Regions from separate parts of the Homo sapiens genome. Here region 2 is linked to region 1. The links are contacts of gene promoters, found by promoter capture Hi-C in human tissues and cell types (Jung and others, 2019). All regions are on one chromosome and are shown on one strand. Each heading gives the region's core, a stretch centred on a gene start or on the middle of the fragment in contact. The rest is flanking DNA. Distances are from core to core; before and after follow the strand shown. Region 1 holds the start of CTTNBP2 (cortactin binding protein 2). Region 2 holds the start of CAPZA2 (capping actin protein of muscle Z-line subunit alpha 2).

Region 1 (7,812 bases), core at 2,532-5,031:
GGTTTCTGTTCTTAGAGTGACTGTACCGGGGGATGATTTTCTTAATGTGGCTCTAACCTTGCAGTCAAATCTTATATTTGTACATTATTTCAGCAATTGAATGAACAGATACAGTTCCCAGTTAAAGGTTGTATTAAAAGGGGCTGGGAGTGATTATGATAATTATTTATGTTTCGCTTTGGCTTGCTTCCTACATAGCAGATTTAATTCCCTAATTATGTTTTGCTTTAGCTTAGGTAAAATTAGCTTGCATTCCTTTGGCACACACCAACTGCAGTTGGTGGAGGAGGCCTTCCAAAACCATAGATTGTTGACAAGAGTGGCTAACTAGATTAGAATTAAATTTACTGAGTAAAATCCACAAAAAGCCTGAGGCACATGTAGCTAATGACATGTGCTATGAGGGAATGTAGTTAGGTCATAGGAAAACTTGTTTCTGGCAATGGACACTCAGAGCTCATCTGCGGAGTTCCTGACGTCAAGATTTGGGGCTTCCTAGGTTGGTCACCATGCTGCAGACAGGGACAAGCATGGTCTGCAATATTTAAATTGTATAACTATAGGCTTGAGGATACAGTCAGAAATGATTTGCTACTCAATAATTTTGTCATTTGGCAATACTAAGACATGATGACATATGGTTTGCTCTTTGGAATTAACATAAATGTTGTCATTTGACTGAAATAAATAATTCTCTTACTCCATGACGGAAAGAGTTTTAGGTTCTGTGTATATTCCTTTATCTTTTCACATGGAAGGAAGCATCCTGTTGTATCATATGTATAACTCTGGGTTTTTGGTTTAGTGGGTTGGAGGATATGGCTGATGAAGCCAAGGACATGGTTTAATCAGAAAACCACTTGGCTCCCAAACATCTGTCTGCATTCCCACCTTTAAGAACTCATTTCCCTGGTCATTTCACCCTTAGAGAGTGTGCTATAGCTCAACACAAATACCTCTATTCCAGGGTTTGGAAAATAATTACCCTCAAATTCTTTAGTCAGTGGGTCATCAGCATCGTTATGATCCAAAAAAAGGATGTAAATAATAGTTTTCTCTATTTGCAATATATTCAGTATTACTCCTTCCATTTTAATGCCAAAAGGAATTTACTGATTAAGACTCATGATTCATTTTTGTTGTAGGGATTTATTTTCCTCCTGTTTATACTTCTATCTTTCTCCTTTTTTACCCTGCCTTTCAGTAATTTTCACTGTAACCCTGGGATATCTTTTATTTTTATTATTAATTATTATTATTATTTAGCTGTTTAATGAGGCTTCAAAAGATTTAATTTCTGGAGCCATCAAGTCAATACCCTTTCACATCTATTTGCTTTGACTGTAATAGAGCCTGCCTTTGTGCAAAGAAAGTCTTAGAAAGAGTTAATTTGCAATAGTAGCAGAGACTAATTCTCAAGAGAGAATTGAAACCAGCAAGTGTCCTCCTGGTGGAGAAGCAGCCCCAGGCCAGGCTACTAGTGAGGAAGTTAACTCCTAGTGTGCCACTTCTGTGCAGTAGGTGAGATCCTCAGCCAACCTTCAACAGTGCTGGTTTTAAGGTGGAAACAGAATGCTGTCAATTCTCCTTCCCAGGTACTGGATTTTGGTGGTTAGAGAATGTGGTGTCCTGTGATTTTTATCACTGTTTTATTTATTTTTTTTCCATTTCACAAAAACAAACAAAAAATGATGGGTGGGGGTTTGCGGTGGGGGGGGGGGGTGGGCAAGGACTGATTTCCTTGTAACATGATCCTGCTTTAATTGTATTTAGGTGAATACAAGCTAATTTTTTCCCAGTGATTTTTTTTTAAAAATTGGGCTGCATGTATAAAAGGGATTTGCTTCCCAGAGATGGTGTCATTTCATATTTCTAACTCTTAACCCTGAGTAAAACTTATTATTATTATTTTTTCCAGAAGTTTGCCAGTTAATTGCTTGAGAAGTATTCAACATCAGAATCAAGAAAATTGATTGCCTTGCAATGTGTGGAAGTGCATTTTGAAAAGAACAAGGAATGCCCTTGGACTTTAAATTTTTACTATCAGTTTGACATCTAACTTTTACTGTCCAGTGGTTTTCTTTAATCTTAAAGAAATCTAGTTATTCTAATATTGAGCAGTTTTAGAGAGTATACTTAATAAAGGAAAGTGGTATAATGAACAGGGATGGATATTAAAGGGATAAGTGAGGGAGTAACTATCAGAGCCAATATAAATAAATAAATAAATAAATAAATAAGTACCTGTACTCACAGGATAACCTGGAGATGATTTCTAAGCCTCTGACTTTTAGCCCCAGAGTTCTAGGTAAAGTTCTTTCTTGACCTCTCTTCTGGGAGGGAACTTTTCACAGTTTATTAATCAATCCCTTTCAGGGTCTTTGCAGAAAAGATTTTCTCTGCCCTGGTTTGTGTCATATTTGGGTCTAATTTGGAAAGTGGAGCAATTAAAGAGTCAAAACCTTTCATTAGGAGCCTGCCATTAAAAAAAGAAGAAAGAAAGAAAGAAAGAAAAAAGGAAAAAAAAAAAAAAAGCTTTGATCTGTAACCCTTGGACTGAACATTCTAGTCATTCATCTTCCAAAATTTCAAGTGCAAGATTTGGTTGTGGTTTGATTTTACGTCTTTGAGACACAGCTTGAATGTCTCAATTTGATTTTATGCATTCGACACATTTTTAGGGATCTGGTGATTTGGGAAGGGCTGTACCATATGGTCTTGGTGAGGTGATAGATTTTCACATTCTGGAAATTGGCAGCAAAGGGTAGGAACTGAATTAGATGTGGAAAGGGAAGATTAAGCGTTTGGGCCTAATTCACTCATCTCATGAAAAATCTTCTGAGACGTGTAATTCCCATAAAATCTATTTTTACAAATACGGCTTTTGTTTGATTGTTTTTGGTGTATATGTACACGTGTCCTCACACGTAGGGAGTAATTTTTTTAAATTCTCTCAAAAGTAGAGGACATGACATTTAGCTTTTAAAGCTATGACATTTAACACTTCTCAGTTAGTCCTTCAGGAGAGATCTCAGACTTAGGGGGGTCACAGAATATAAAACAGCCCGCTACACATTCCCTGAAAAGGAGATTGTATAGAAAGTTAGGAGCTGAGGGGCTGGTGCCACGTTCTAAAAGAAAACAGGACAGACAAATCGTTTTCATCTGAGAATTGTTTTTGGAGAAACACTAGAGTCAACGATAGAATAAATCAGAGCCAGGTGTGTATATATATAGGGAGGATAAAAACACCCTGGCGGCAATGAAATTTAAGAAAGAGCAATTTAAGAAGAAAGGGGTGCCCTGTGTGATTCCTCGCGGTGGGATAGAGGGAGCTGAAGTGTAGGATTTTCCCTGATCTTTCAGAGAATTCAGATTCAGGAGGCCTGACATTTAATCTGGTCTGTGCACGGATTTCTCCGGCTTGGTTGGGGTTCTGCGGAATGCAACGCTCCTCGGGCGCTTTCTGCCTTCACCTCTTCCGTGGTCTTTGATCCCCAGTCCCCGCGCAGGGCCGCAGCGGAGCCAGGTCGTGCGCCCATTTCTCGCACCTCCACGAGCCCGCGGCTGGCGCCACCGGGCGCGGGACGCGGGGCGCGGGGCGGGACCGAGGCGGGGCGCTCCGGCGCGCAGCGGGTTAAGCGGCGAGGGCGGTGGCGAGGGGCGGAGGGAGTGCCGCGGCTCCCGGCTCCCGGCTCCAGGCGCCCGCGTCCCGGACAGCAGCGGGTTAAGTGCCGCCCGCGCGGAGACGGCTGAGTCCGGAGCCGCGGCTCCGAGCTCGCATTCGGATCCGCTAGAGCAGGAAGATGGCGACGGACGGCGCGAGCTGCGAGCCCGACTTGTCCCGGGCCCCGGAGGACGCGGCGGGGGCCGCGGCGGAGGCGGCGGTAACCGAGTTCCCGGGGCGGGCGCGGGGCTAGTGTAGACGCGGGCCGGGGGCGGCGCCGGGGTCCCAGCCGGACCCGACTTCGCACCCCCGGGGCGTTCCGTAAGCCCGGGACTCTCCGGTGCCCCTTCATCGGGGCCCCCCTTCCTCGGGATGCCCACACGGCGGAGGCCGCGGGGGGGAGCGGAGCGGCCACCCTGGCTGGGGATCCCTCCTGTCCCTTCCGCGCCCCACGGGAAGCGGCCCCGGGTCGCCCGGTTCTCCCAGCTCCCTGTCTGCGTCCAGTGCGACCCCTATGCCCACTCCCTCCGCTGCGGTCGCTTCTGGCCGGGGGAGAAGGCTGGGACGTGTTTCCTGGCGAATTTGACCCCCCATTGTTCACCTCTCGCTGCGCGCGTGGTTGCCAGCGCGTGTCTCGGGGGTGCCTGGTACCGCTCAGCGGACCCGGGAGAGCAGCTTGGGGGAGGTGGGCCATCGCCCAGCAGGTGTGGGGATGCCCATTGTGTGCATCTGGTCCTGTGCCTTCGGGAGGCCCACTGGGAGAGGGCCGTGTCCAGATGTGGGCGCTGCTGCCGCTGAGGCCAGCGCTTTAGGTCCTAGCAGCCTGCTGCCCCATTACTTGGTGGTAGTGATTGGGGTGGGGTGGATGGATTGGTTCTTCCCGAGACGATGCTCAGGAGAGGTGGAGGTTCTGCACCTGGTTTCAAGACATTGTTCTCCTTCTCTGGAGTCTAGAGGCCGAATGCGCTACCATTCTTGACTGGTCCTTACTTTCACCCCCTTAATATTCCGGTGTAGAGACTCGCTGGTGGTTTCCAGCCTCTACTTTGGGGAAGGGCTGGACCCACATTTCCTGGGTGGAAAAGGTTCTCGGTGTTTGGGAAGCAGCTTCGCAGGAGCTGCAAGGAGCTGCAGAGAAAGGCAGATCTGGGAGCGCCTCCCACTCTTGGCCAGATCTGGCTGCTCCCGCCGAAGGATGGGGTGGGATGGAGCGAGCGGGGCGTGGACGCCCCCCTCTTCCTATCAAGACCTGAGCAGAATCAGTGCAGGAGAGGGCAGGGCCGGGCGTAAACAGCGGGGGCCGCTTTAACTTCCTCCCACCCTCTGGAGGTAGGGCTTTCTGGAGAGGGAGAGGAGAGATGTGGAGGAAGGTACTTGGGGTGAGAGGAGCTGAGCCTGGCAATGGAAGGAGAAACGGGGAGGAGGACTGCTAATTTCCACTTGTAAAACTGGCAAGTTTTGATTTGAACTTTTGGGAAAATTGAGTTTCCATTCTTTGCATAGAAAATGAGAACTTTAAGATTTCAAACGAAACCTGCCCACTTATGTGAATCAGCTCCCCTCTGTGGGGCACAGTAAGGAAACTAGCTATTGAGACAAGGCTCTCTGGCAAGTGGAAATGATTTGGTGCCTTCATCCCCAAAAGGTGGGAAGGGGAAGGACGAGGAAAAAGAAAGAGGGTGTGTGTGTGTGTGTGTGTGTGTGTGTGTGAAGGGGAAGGACGAAAAAGAAAGAGGGTGTGTGTGTGTGTGTGTGTGTGTGGTGTGTTTCTTGTTCCCCAGAAAGGTTGAATTTGTTTACTTAATCCACTCAGAATGGGTTTCTGTTACCCTCAATATTTTAATCACCTGACAATTAACCCAAACACAAACATCTGACTGATGGTCTGTAGAGCTGATATATAGTTTTGTTTGGTTAGATCGTAAACAAAACCCAGGACGCCAGGCAGATTTCTGTGTTAACAAGGTCAGTGTTCCCTCTCTTCTGTTTAAAATGTTCAAGTCTGATTTTCACTGCTGATAGTTGGGGATTTGATAATTTCACCCTTGTTAATGGGCAGAGCCATGGAAAATCTGCGAAAGTGAACCTTCTTTGCTATTTCCATAGAATCCTTTAGGGTTGCGAGATGCAATAAGGATTCTTCATCTAGTAGTTTAAAAACCAGTAATAATTTCTGAATTTTTAGTAAAATTTTGATGATGGCTTTTGTAGTAAATTGGGCCTTTTATTTTAGTTCTCCAAATAGTTTTGACTTAATAAGGCATGGTTCTCTCATATCAGCCGCTTGACCTATAGACTGATTTTTAAGTGAAAGGAAAGCTAGTGTAGAGGAGTGATATGTGTCATCACAATTGCTCCTTAAAAATCAGAGGCGTTTTATGCATTTTGGGTTCTTGTTGACTGATATTTTTTATTTTAGTGAACAATTCACTTTGCATTTTGGAGATTTGTTGACTTTCAAATTGGTTTACATATCGTGCATTTTTATGTATACATTTGGCAGTAAGGAGTCAATGGAAGCTCTAAAGCAGTAGGCTATTTTTGAAAGTGAGTGTTTTCACTAAGCTTTGACTATTTAGATTGTTGCTTAGAAACAAGCTTAATTTATAGTTTTCAGTTTAATATCATTTTTAGTGGAATGTTTTAAATTTAGTTTGTGATCCTCATTCTTAGCTGTTTAAATCCTGAAAGCATCCCAAGTTTAAGGCTGGGTAACAGCTACATTATTCAATAGGATCATATTAATAGTCTTTGCCGTGAACCGTGCCGGGAAACCTGGGCTATTTTCAGTGCCTTAGCCAAATGTGATGACTTTTATAGGCCATATTGCTGTTTCCACTCTGAAAATAACTCCTAATGGATAAGGCAGTATGGAAAACGAAATCTTCATGCTTTTTATTGTCACCAAAGAATTTTGGAATGAAAGGAAAATGGAGATCTTTTTAGAGCTATATTTGGGAAGCCAACCAACATTCTTGTCATTCTGAGCTTTTCTGGAGCAGCTAATAGACAAGAAGTAGGTATAAAATTTGTTGTCATGGTGGCAGTGACAAAGAAAAACTTGGACAATGATTTAAAATGCACGACAGTGATGTTAAACAAATTAACAGCTGAACTTGAAATTTTTGTTTTCCAGGTGACAGTATTGAATGTAAATGCACTGAAAAGAACTTTCGTAGCCAATTGCGCTAAGCGTTTTTTTAAACTAAATTATAGTTACGTGGCAGCTATAGAATGTTGAAAGTGTTGCAGCTTAATTTTTAAATAGGAAATAACGTAGATTTAACACACATTACTGAACACTTACTGAGATACAGGCATCATGAGTATGATCTTTGCTACCCTAAAGTAATACATTCCAGTGATAGAAACTGACATACGCCAAGGAATCAAATTGGGGATGATGGTGTCATGAGAGGCAAAAATGATTTTGCATTAGAAGTTTGGAGAGGAACAGTCATAGAGAGGGTCCCTAGTGGATGGATCTAGAAACTTCCATAGAAGGATGACATTTGAAGTAGTCCTTGAGACTGAAGGAGGATTTGGACCGGCACTGCAAGAAGGAGTGTGCAAATGTGGTCATATCCTAGGGAGCCATATGCGAAGGGTTTTCAGTGATGAGCATAGAGGTTCCCATTCTGGTCTCAGCTATATGGTTCAGAAAAATAGCTTGGAAGTTGAGGAAATTGACTGGAATATTTTTCCAAAGATGAGAATATAACTGTTTTCAGTGTCCTGCTTTTCACTCTTTTTTTTTTCTTCTTAAATAATAGGTTGTAGATTTCTGTTTGCCCCAGTTTTTGAACTTTATTATTATTGTCGTTGCTGTCATTGTTATTGTATTTCTCACAGCAGCAATTTTGTTTAGAGAACATTTGTCCTCTCAGTGATTGAATCCATGCCTGGGCTAGATTACCAGTTGGTTCTATCCTTGTGTGTTTCTCATAACTTTATGAGGTGAGAAAATGTTTCACAGCCTTGGTACTTAGACATTTACAAATATCTGCTGTTGATCATGTGGACAGGAAGGCTGTGGCTGGGAGAAAGCAGCCTCCTCCTCCGAGGAGAGTTGTGTGAAGTTTGTAAAAGAAAGCAAAGGTGGTTAGCACAATGCCAGGCACATGGTAAGTGTTCCACAAATATTT
Region 2 (7,812 bases), core at 3,648-6,147, 1.0 Mb after region 1:
TGAAACCCCGTCTCTACTAAAAATACAAAAAATTAGCCGGGCGCGGTGGCAGGCGCCTGTAGTCCCAGCTACTCGGGAGGCTGAGGCAGGAGAATGGCGTGAACCCAGGAGGCGGAGCTTGCAGTGAGCCGAGATACCGCCTGGGTGAAAGAGCGAGACTCCGTCTCAAAAAAAAAAAAAAAAAGTCTATGGGACACACTATAGCAAGTTAAGAGCTTTAAAGAACTTCATTGTGTTCTTCAGCTAAATTTATTTCCCATTCACCCAGTGGCCAAAGGAGAAAAGGTTATTAAACTTCATAGTAGTATCCTCAAAAAGCAATTGTGTATGATTTTAAAAAACAAAACTATTATTCTAGATTGATTTCTAAAATGCTTCCTATCAGTAACATAACACCTTTAAATGTGTTAATAATAAGCTTTATTCTAAAATCATCAAGACAAAAATTTAGAACCTAACACTATTTGCTTGGTATTACTTTTTAAAAAAGGGCTAGGAATCATGGCTCATGCCCGTAATCCCAGCACTTTAGGATGCCCAAGTGGGAGGATCGTTTGAGCCAGGAGTGTGAGACCACCCTGGACAACATCGTGAGACCTTGTCTCTACAAAAAATTTTTTTAAATTTGCTGGGTGTCCTGGCACACCTGCCTGTACTCCCAGCTACTTGGGGAGACTGAGGTGAGAGGACTGCTTGAGCCCAGGAAGTTGAGGCTGCAGTGAGCCATGATCACCACTGCACTCCAGCCTGGGTGGACAGAGTGAGACCCTGTCTAAGGAAGAATCAACGTTTCTCCTTTTTCAAAATAAGCTGTCAACAAATTAAAAATGAAGAGACAAAACCAGAAGAGGTTCTTATCAATTTTGTTTAAGAAAGCATAATGTCTGCTGGGCATGGTGGCTCACGCCTGTAATCCCAGCACTTTGGGAGGCCGAGGGGGGTGGATCACCTGAGGTCAGGAGTTCAAGACCAGCCTGGGCAACATAGCGAAACCCCGTCTCTACTAAAAATACAAAAATTAGCTGGGCATGGTGGCATGTGCCAGTTATCCCAGCTACTCGGGAGGCTGAGGCAGAAGAATCGCTTCAGCCCCGGAGGCAGAGGTTGCAGTGAGCCAAGATTGCACCACTGCACTCCAGCCTGCGTGACAGAGTGGGACTCTGTATCAAAAAAAAAAAAAAAAAAAAAAAAAAGAAGAGAGCGCATAATGTCACAAGAACATCAACGTTGGACTAAGACAAACTTTAAATACTACCTTCATCTTGACCGTCCTTGGGTGAACTACTTAAAGCTTTTGAACCTCACTCTACTCATCTGTGAAATGGTAATAGAACTACCTCTTACAACAACAAATTAAGTAATGAATGTATCTAACTGAGCCAAGCATATATAAAGTATGGTACTAGACACATCTTAACAGCTTCTCTTCCTTAAATTTGCAATCTAGAATGGAAATTTCAAAAACTTAAAAGTATTCAAAACTTAATATTTTTTTTTAGAGATGAGGTCTCGCTATGTTACCAGGCTGGTCTACAACTCCTGGGCTCAAGCGATCCTCCACACCTTGGCATCCAGAGTAGTTGGCATTACAGGTGCAAACCACCGTGCCCAGCTTAAGAGCTTATTTTTGAAAATTACCAATAAGGCAGTAGAACGAGTAATATTAAAATATCACTTTTAAGTCCTCTCTGTTTTCTGATCCCATACTGGACACATCCTCCTCCCCCAAAATGAAAATAACCTTTAGATATCTCAAGTGACAAGAACGTTAAAATTTCACTTTACTGGTTACTTGAATTTAACCTAAAGGTTTTGTCAGTTTTTAAATTAGTAAATATAGTGATAAAATTTATATGTAAAATATCTACATAATATTCTTACAAAACATCAAAAATCAAATTAGAATTTTCATTCATTTAACCATAAAACATTTTGCTACTAGGCGGCACAGGCTTTAAGACACACAACCTCCTCATTCCTCTTTATGAAGCTTAGTGCCCTGAGAGTGCCAGATAATAAGGCATCTTGTTATCTCATTTTTAAAAAACTTTTTTATTTTAGGCCTTTACAACACATGGCAGGTCTATATTAACTCCCACACCGAGTAGTCTCTCTTCAGCTAGATTTCTAGCCACTTGAGCTACTAATCATCACTTAAGAATGGTAGAATAAAAACACGACAATCTCTTTTTAAGCTTTTTAGCACGCCTCAATTTTAAATATGTTTGTGCACTCCTGTACACTTTCAGTCACCTAAATAAAATAGGATTATTTATCAAGATTATACATTGAATACTGTACAGCAACTTTTGTGGATACGGGGATCTGCCTACTGGGTCTGTGGGCTATGGAGACGTTGCTCGCCCCCATTTTGTTGTTGTATTATCACTTTCACCGAAGAACACAAGAGAAAAAAAGATTTCCGAAAATAAAGATGAGGCTGACTTCTGACCATTCACATTGGGAATGGGACAGAACCTTCTATTTCGGTGCAAGAACACAGCATATAAAAACATCTAGAGCAGAGGGTCCTAAATGAAAATATCCTCAGACTTACATGAAGATTTCTTAAACACCACAACATACCTAAATGTACCTGTATTTTCCTGCACTGGCTTTGAAATTTAAAAATGAAGCACTCTTTAACGAAGAGTGGACATTTCCAACCCTGCAACTAACTCATTCCTATGTTCTGTCAGTTACTTCTAAGGGTCCTTTCCGAGAAACAGTCAAAATTAGCAGGGTTCTCCCCTACCCCACCACCCTCGGGAATGGGACGTTCCCAAAAGCCAAACGAAAGGGGCGAATTAAGAGAGCAGCAGTTCAATGAATTATTCCATTACTCGTTTTAAATATCTGAGAACTTAAGTCGTTCATCTGGTTCCATTGCTGTCACAGCATCTAATATACAGTAAAAGGAGTTGCACATTTTCCCCTCTTCGGAAGAAGTCCTAGCAGGAAAGTGAGGTGCCACCAAATCGACCCCCGGGGGGGGGCTGCTGCCAACGTGGGCAGAAAACAACTATGGGGAGGGGGTCGTCTTTTTGTGAGCAACTCCGCTGCCTCCTGGGGAACATGGGAGCTGCAAGCTTACTGCTAGAGCCACGAAAGGAAAGAGAGAAGGAGGGAGAGATGCCTCCATGGGGAAAGGGAAAAAAAAGGATAAACCGTAGAGGATCAGAAAAGGAAGCATTTTGCTTTGAGGAGGGGGAAGTAGAAGGGAGAAGTGAAGGTCTGCTTCCTAAGCGATTTTTCCCTTCCCCTCACCCGCCGCTACACTCACAGGCCAGGCCGCCGCGCTGGGCACTGCCCTTGGGCCGCTCCCACGCACGGACGCAAACCCCTTTGCGTCCCTGGTCCCCGGTCCCCGGCCCCGGCGGAGGCCCCGCGGCCCGACAGCAGGAGAGGGTCCTGGGCAGCCGCCGCCCTCCCCCGCGCCCGCGCCCCCGCCCGCCGTCGCCCGGCTCCCGCTTCCTATTTTCGGAGTACACACCCTACAAGGAGCGGAGCGAGCAGGCCTGGCAGAGACCTGCCCCCGCGCGGGGCCTCGGGTGACGGACAGGGGCAGGCACTGGGCGCAGTAAGGATGGGGGAGGAAGGGCAGCCGAGGGCAAGGCCAGCTGCGGGCCAATGCCCTTCCCCCGCGACCAGACTCCGGGCCCACCCGCCCGGGCTGAGCCGGCTCCTGACAGCCCGCGCCGTCGCCCCCGCGACTCTTACCTTCTCTTCATCAGACAACTGCTCCTCCAGATCCGCCATCTTCCTTCTGGCGACAAACCGCGGCGGCGGCGGCGGCAGCGGCCACCTGACTTCCCCGTTTCCGTGCGGTCCTCAGCGCCGCGCGCCCCCGCTAAGGGAGGGGCCCGCCGCTCAGGCCGCCGCGCACGCGCACCCCGGGAGCCCCGCCTCCCTCGACCCGGCCCTCGCGGACTGAGCGCGGCTGTGCGCGTGCGCGGGCGCCTGGTGGCCGGGCGGGGGACCGTGTCTCGCTGGGCCGCCTGCTGCAGGCTTGCTAGCATCTTGAGTGCAGCGTGCTCTCCCCACTGTGACCATATGGGCTCAGTCTGCGATGAGTACATTCTGAGCCCTTCGTTATGTTTCCATCAAGTCCTGAACTCTGCCAGCTAAAATGTGAAAAGGTGTACAAATAGAAGCCTTTTAAACATTGTTTTTTCAAATATTAGAGAAGATAGTTGGCTTTCATTAAAATACACATCACGACCCTCTCCATAATTGAAAGATTGCTCTTGATATACTCCTTTATTCATCCAACAAATATTTTTTGGTTCTTTAACGGGGTGCGGGGCACTGTGTTAGTCTCTGGGGATACAGTGTTGAGGGGGAAAAAAGCAAGCTAGACATACATGTTCATAGCAGCACAATTCGCAATTGCAAAGAGATGGAACCAACCTAAGTGTCCATCAACCAATGAGTGGATAGAGCAAATGTGGGTATATACACCATGGAATACTACTCAGCCATAAAAAGGAACGAAATAATGCCTTTTGCAGCAACTTGGAAGGAGCTGGAGGCCATTATTCTAAGTGAAGTAACTCAGGAATGGGAAACCAAATATTTTATGTTCTCACTTATAAGTGGGAGCTAAGCTATGTGGGTTCAAAGGCATAAGAATGATAAAATGGACTTTGGGGACTGGGGAGGGGATAAATTACTACGTATTGGGTACAGGGTACACTGCTCAGGTGATGGGTGCACTAAAATCTCAGAAGTTACCGCTAAAGGACTTATCCATGTTACCAAAAATCCACCTGTATTCCAAAACTGTTGAAATAAAAAGAGAAACTTCCATACTCAAGAAGCTCATTTTCTACTCATTAAACAAACATATATTGAACAGTTGGGGCCGGGCGCGGTAGCTCAGGCCTGTAATCCCAGCAATTTGGGAGGCCTCCGTGGGCAGATCATCTGAGGTCAGGAGTTCGTGACCAGATTGGCCAACATGAAGAAACCCCGTCTCTACTAAAAATACAAAAATTATCCGGGGCGTGGTGGCGCATACCTGTAATACCAGCTACTCGGGAGGCTGAGGCAGGAGAGTTGCAGAAGTCATTGCAACCCGAGAGGCGGAGGTTGTCCCTGTCCCTGCAACCCGGGAGACGGAGGTTGCAGTCAGCCGAGGTCGCGCCACTGTACTCCAGCCTGGGTGACAGAGCAAGACTCTGTCTCAAAAAGCAAAACAAAAAAAAACAAAAACAGTTGGGGAAGGCACTGTACTATTCCAGGGGAATACAAAGCTATGTTAGACATGGATCCTACCCTCCTGAATAGGTTTGCCATATTAAATATAGGACACTTAATCAAATGTGAATTGCAGATAAGCAATCTTTTAAAAAGTATGTCCCATGAAGCAGTGGAGACATACTTAAACCAAAAAATTACTCATTGTTTTCAAATTTTACTGGACATCCTTTACTTTTATTTGCTAAATCTAGCAACCCTGCTTTTGAAGCTTGAAGTTTATGAGAGATTAAACATGTAATCAAAGCTGCGTAGATATGAATCAATTGGGAATCTTGTGAAAACGAAGTTGTTAATTCAATAGATGTGGCATGAGACTGGAGAATCTGTATTCTCCAGAATACAGCCTGTAGAATAACAGGCTCCCAGCTGATGCCAGTGCTCCTGATCTGGAGACCACATTTTGAGTGGTAAGGCCTTAGGGTTTAAGATAGGCGTTCAGATTCCGTGAGGAACTGTTGAGAACTTTTGAACAGTGACATGACATGATCAGAAATATGTGCAGCAAGATGAATCTGACAGCTGCACATAAATGAAATGTGAGAGTATCAAATAAATGTTCAGAGGCAAGACCTTATTATTAAGTAATTTATTGGGTGTTCATAATGTGCAAATCATTGTTTTTTGTGAATGGACGGCAAACAGAAGCTATGATATTGAAAAACTGATGGTTCATTTGGGGAGAGAAGAGGAAGGAGAAGCATGCTGACACATGCAGAAAAAAGCAGGTGTCCTTTCGAGGATAAACGTTGTGAAGAAGATAAAGAGAATAAACCACATAGTTTAACCAAGGGTAACACTGGATGAAAATTAACATGTTTACTCTTATAGATTACAAATCATTGCTTCATTGATTTCTCACTGCAACCTCAAGTGAGGTTCTTATCAGTACCATTATACCCATTTTACAGAAGAAAAAAATGAGGCTAAATGATTTAAGATTGCATAGATCCCAGCACTTTGGGAGGCAGAGGTGGGCAGATCACCTGAGGTCAGGAGTTTGAGACCAGCCTGGCCAACATGAGGAAACCCTGTCTCTACTAAAAATACAAAAATTAGCTGGGCGTGGTGGCTCACACCTGTAATCCCAGCTACTTGGGAGGCTGAGGCAAGAGAATCACTTGAACCCAGGAGGCGGAGGTTGCCTGGGCAACAAGAGCAAAACTCCATCTAAAAAAAAAAAAAAAAAGAAAGAAAGAAAGAAAGAAAGAAAGAAAGAAAGAAAGAAAGAAAGAAAAAGATTGCATAGCTCCTAAGTGACCGAGCTGGGATTGGAACCTAGGCATCTTATTTTATATTTCATGTTCTTTCCACTGCAAGATTTTTCTTTCTTCCTCTTAAGTCTGGGCACTGTCCACCAAATAAAACTTAATGAAGGCAATTACTATCCCATCCTGTAAATTCAATTCACCACCCTGTGCTGCATCAGCAGTACTTCTGGTTTTGTTTTTTTTCCTGTCTTTTTTCCTGTTTACTCAGCAACACCTATATTAGTATTTTGTATACAGTGGATACTCAGCAAATATTATTGCTTGATTAATTGGCTGCTCTCTTCCTCTAGAAACCTCACCCAAATATGGTAATGTTTTGCAATAATTTGAGTCAGAGTGTGTTTATAATTGTAACCTTAGTGATACAATACATGTGGTTTCCCATAGTGACACAACCCACAATTATGTATAATTTCTGATAATCTTTTCAGTAATCTTCCAATACCACCCTCTTGGTACAATTAAAAGGAATTCTAAAATTTGCGTAGCCTATGTATTCTAGAAAGATTTTAAGCTGTCACACAAATAGGTAAAATATGAAATTATTGTTATATGACTGCAAGGAAAAATGTACTGGTAGTCTTGGATAATCAGTTGTTTTATGAGGAGGAGAAAATAAACAAAATATTTATCCTATACATGATTTTACCTACTAAGAATTTCTACCCTTTTCTTAATTAATTTCCAAACTTACTTCTCTTCTTTTTGTTTTTGGCTGTTTTTTGTTTTTGTTTTTTTTTTTGAGACACAGTCTCGCTCTGTTGCCCAGGCTGGAGTTCTGTGTCATGATCTCGGCTCACTGCAACCTCTGCCTCCCAGGTTCAAGCTATTCTCCTGCCTCAGCCTCCCGAGTAGCTGGGACTACAGGCACCTGCCATCATGCCCAGCTAATTTTTGTATTTTTAGTAGAGATGGAGTTTCACCATGTTGGCCAGGCTGGTCTCGAACTCCTGACCTTGTGGTCCACCCACCTTGGCCTCCCAAAGTGCTGGGATTACAGGTGTGAGCCACCACGCCTGGCCAAACTTACCTTTCTTCTGCTTATTCATGGTCTGATCTTGGTCTTTCCAATTAACATCACCAGAATTTTTCTTCCTTTTATAGTGTTTGTTTTTAAGTTACTTGTATACTTTTACATCGATTTTCCTATGGATATACTCGAATTATTCAACTACGTTTTAAACTTGTCAAGACCAGTGGTTACCCAATTTCACAGAAAAACAATCTTAGGGTGCATCTACTACAAACCTCTCTCTTTACAGATGAGTTGAGCCTTAGATAA

The links. The method cuts DNA at HindIII sites, captures the fragments that hold promoters and counts their contacts. A contact is called where the count stands out against the background at its distance.
Region 2: a fragment that was not itself captured here is called in contact with the fragment with the promoter of CTTNBP2 in region 1 in 1 of the 25 tissues and cell types used here (hippocampus).

What each region holds. Positions count from the first base shown.
Region 1 is chr7:117,869,410-117,877,221 of GRCh38, reverse strand. It overlaps CTTNBP2 (cortactin binding protein 2), which reads left to right and starts at 3,781. Exons shown (of 23, transcript NM_033427.3): 1 at 3,781-3,887. The coding sequence starts at 3,807. The HindIII fragment of the contact is 9,281 bases long and covers 1-7,390 here.
Region 2 is chr7:116,858,559-116,866,370 of GRCh38, reverse strand. It overlaps CAPZA2 (capping actin protein of muscle Z-line subunit alpha 2), which reads right to left and starts at 3,784. Exons shown (of 10, transcript NM_006136.3): 1 at 3,721-3,784. The coding sequence starts at 3,759. RefSeq lists a silencer at 3,297-4,036 and enhancers at 3,403-4,165, 4,117-4,166. The HindIII fragment of the contact is 4,509 bases long and covers 2,643-7,151 here.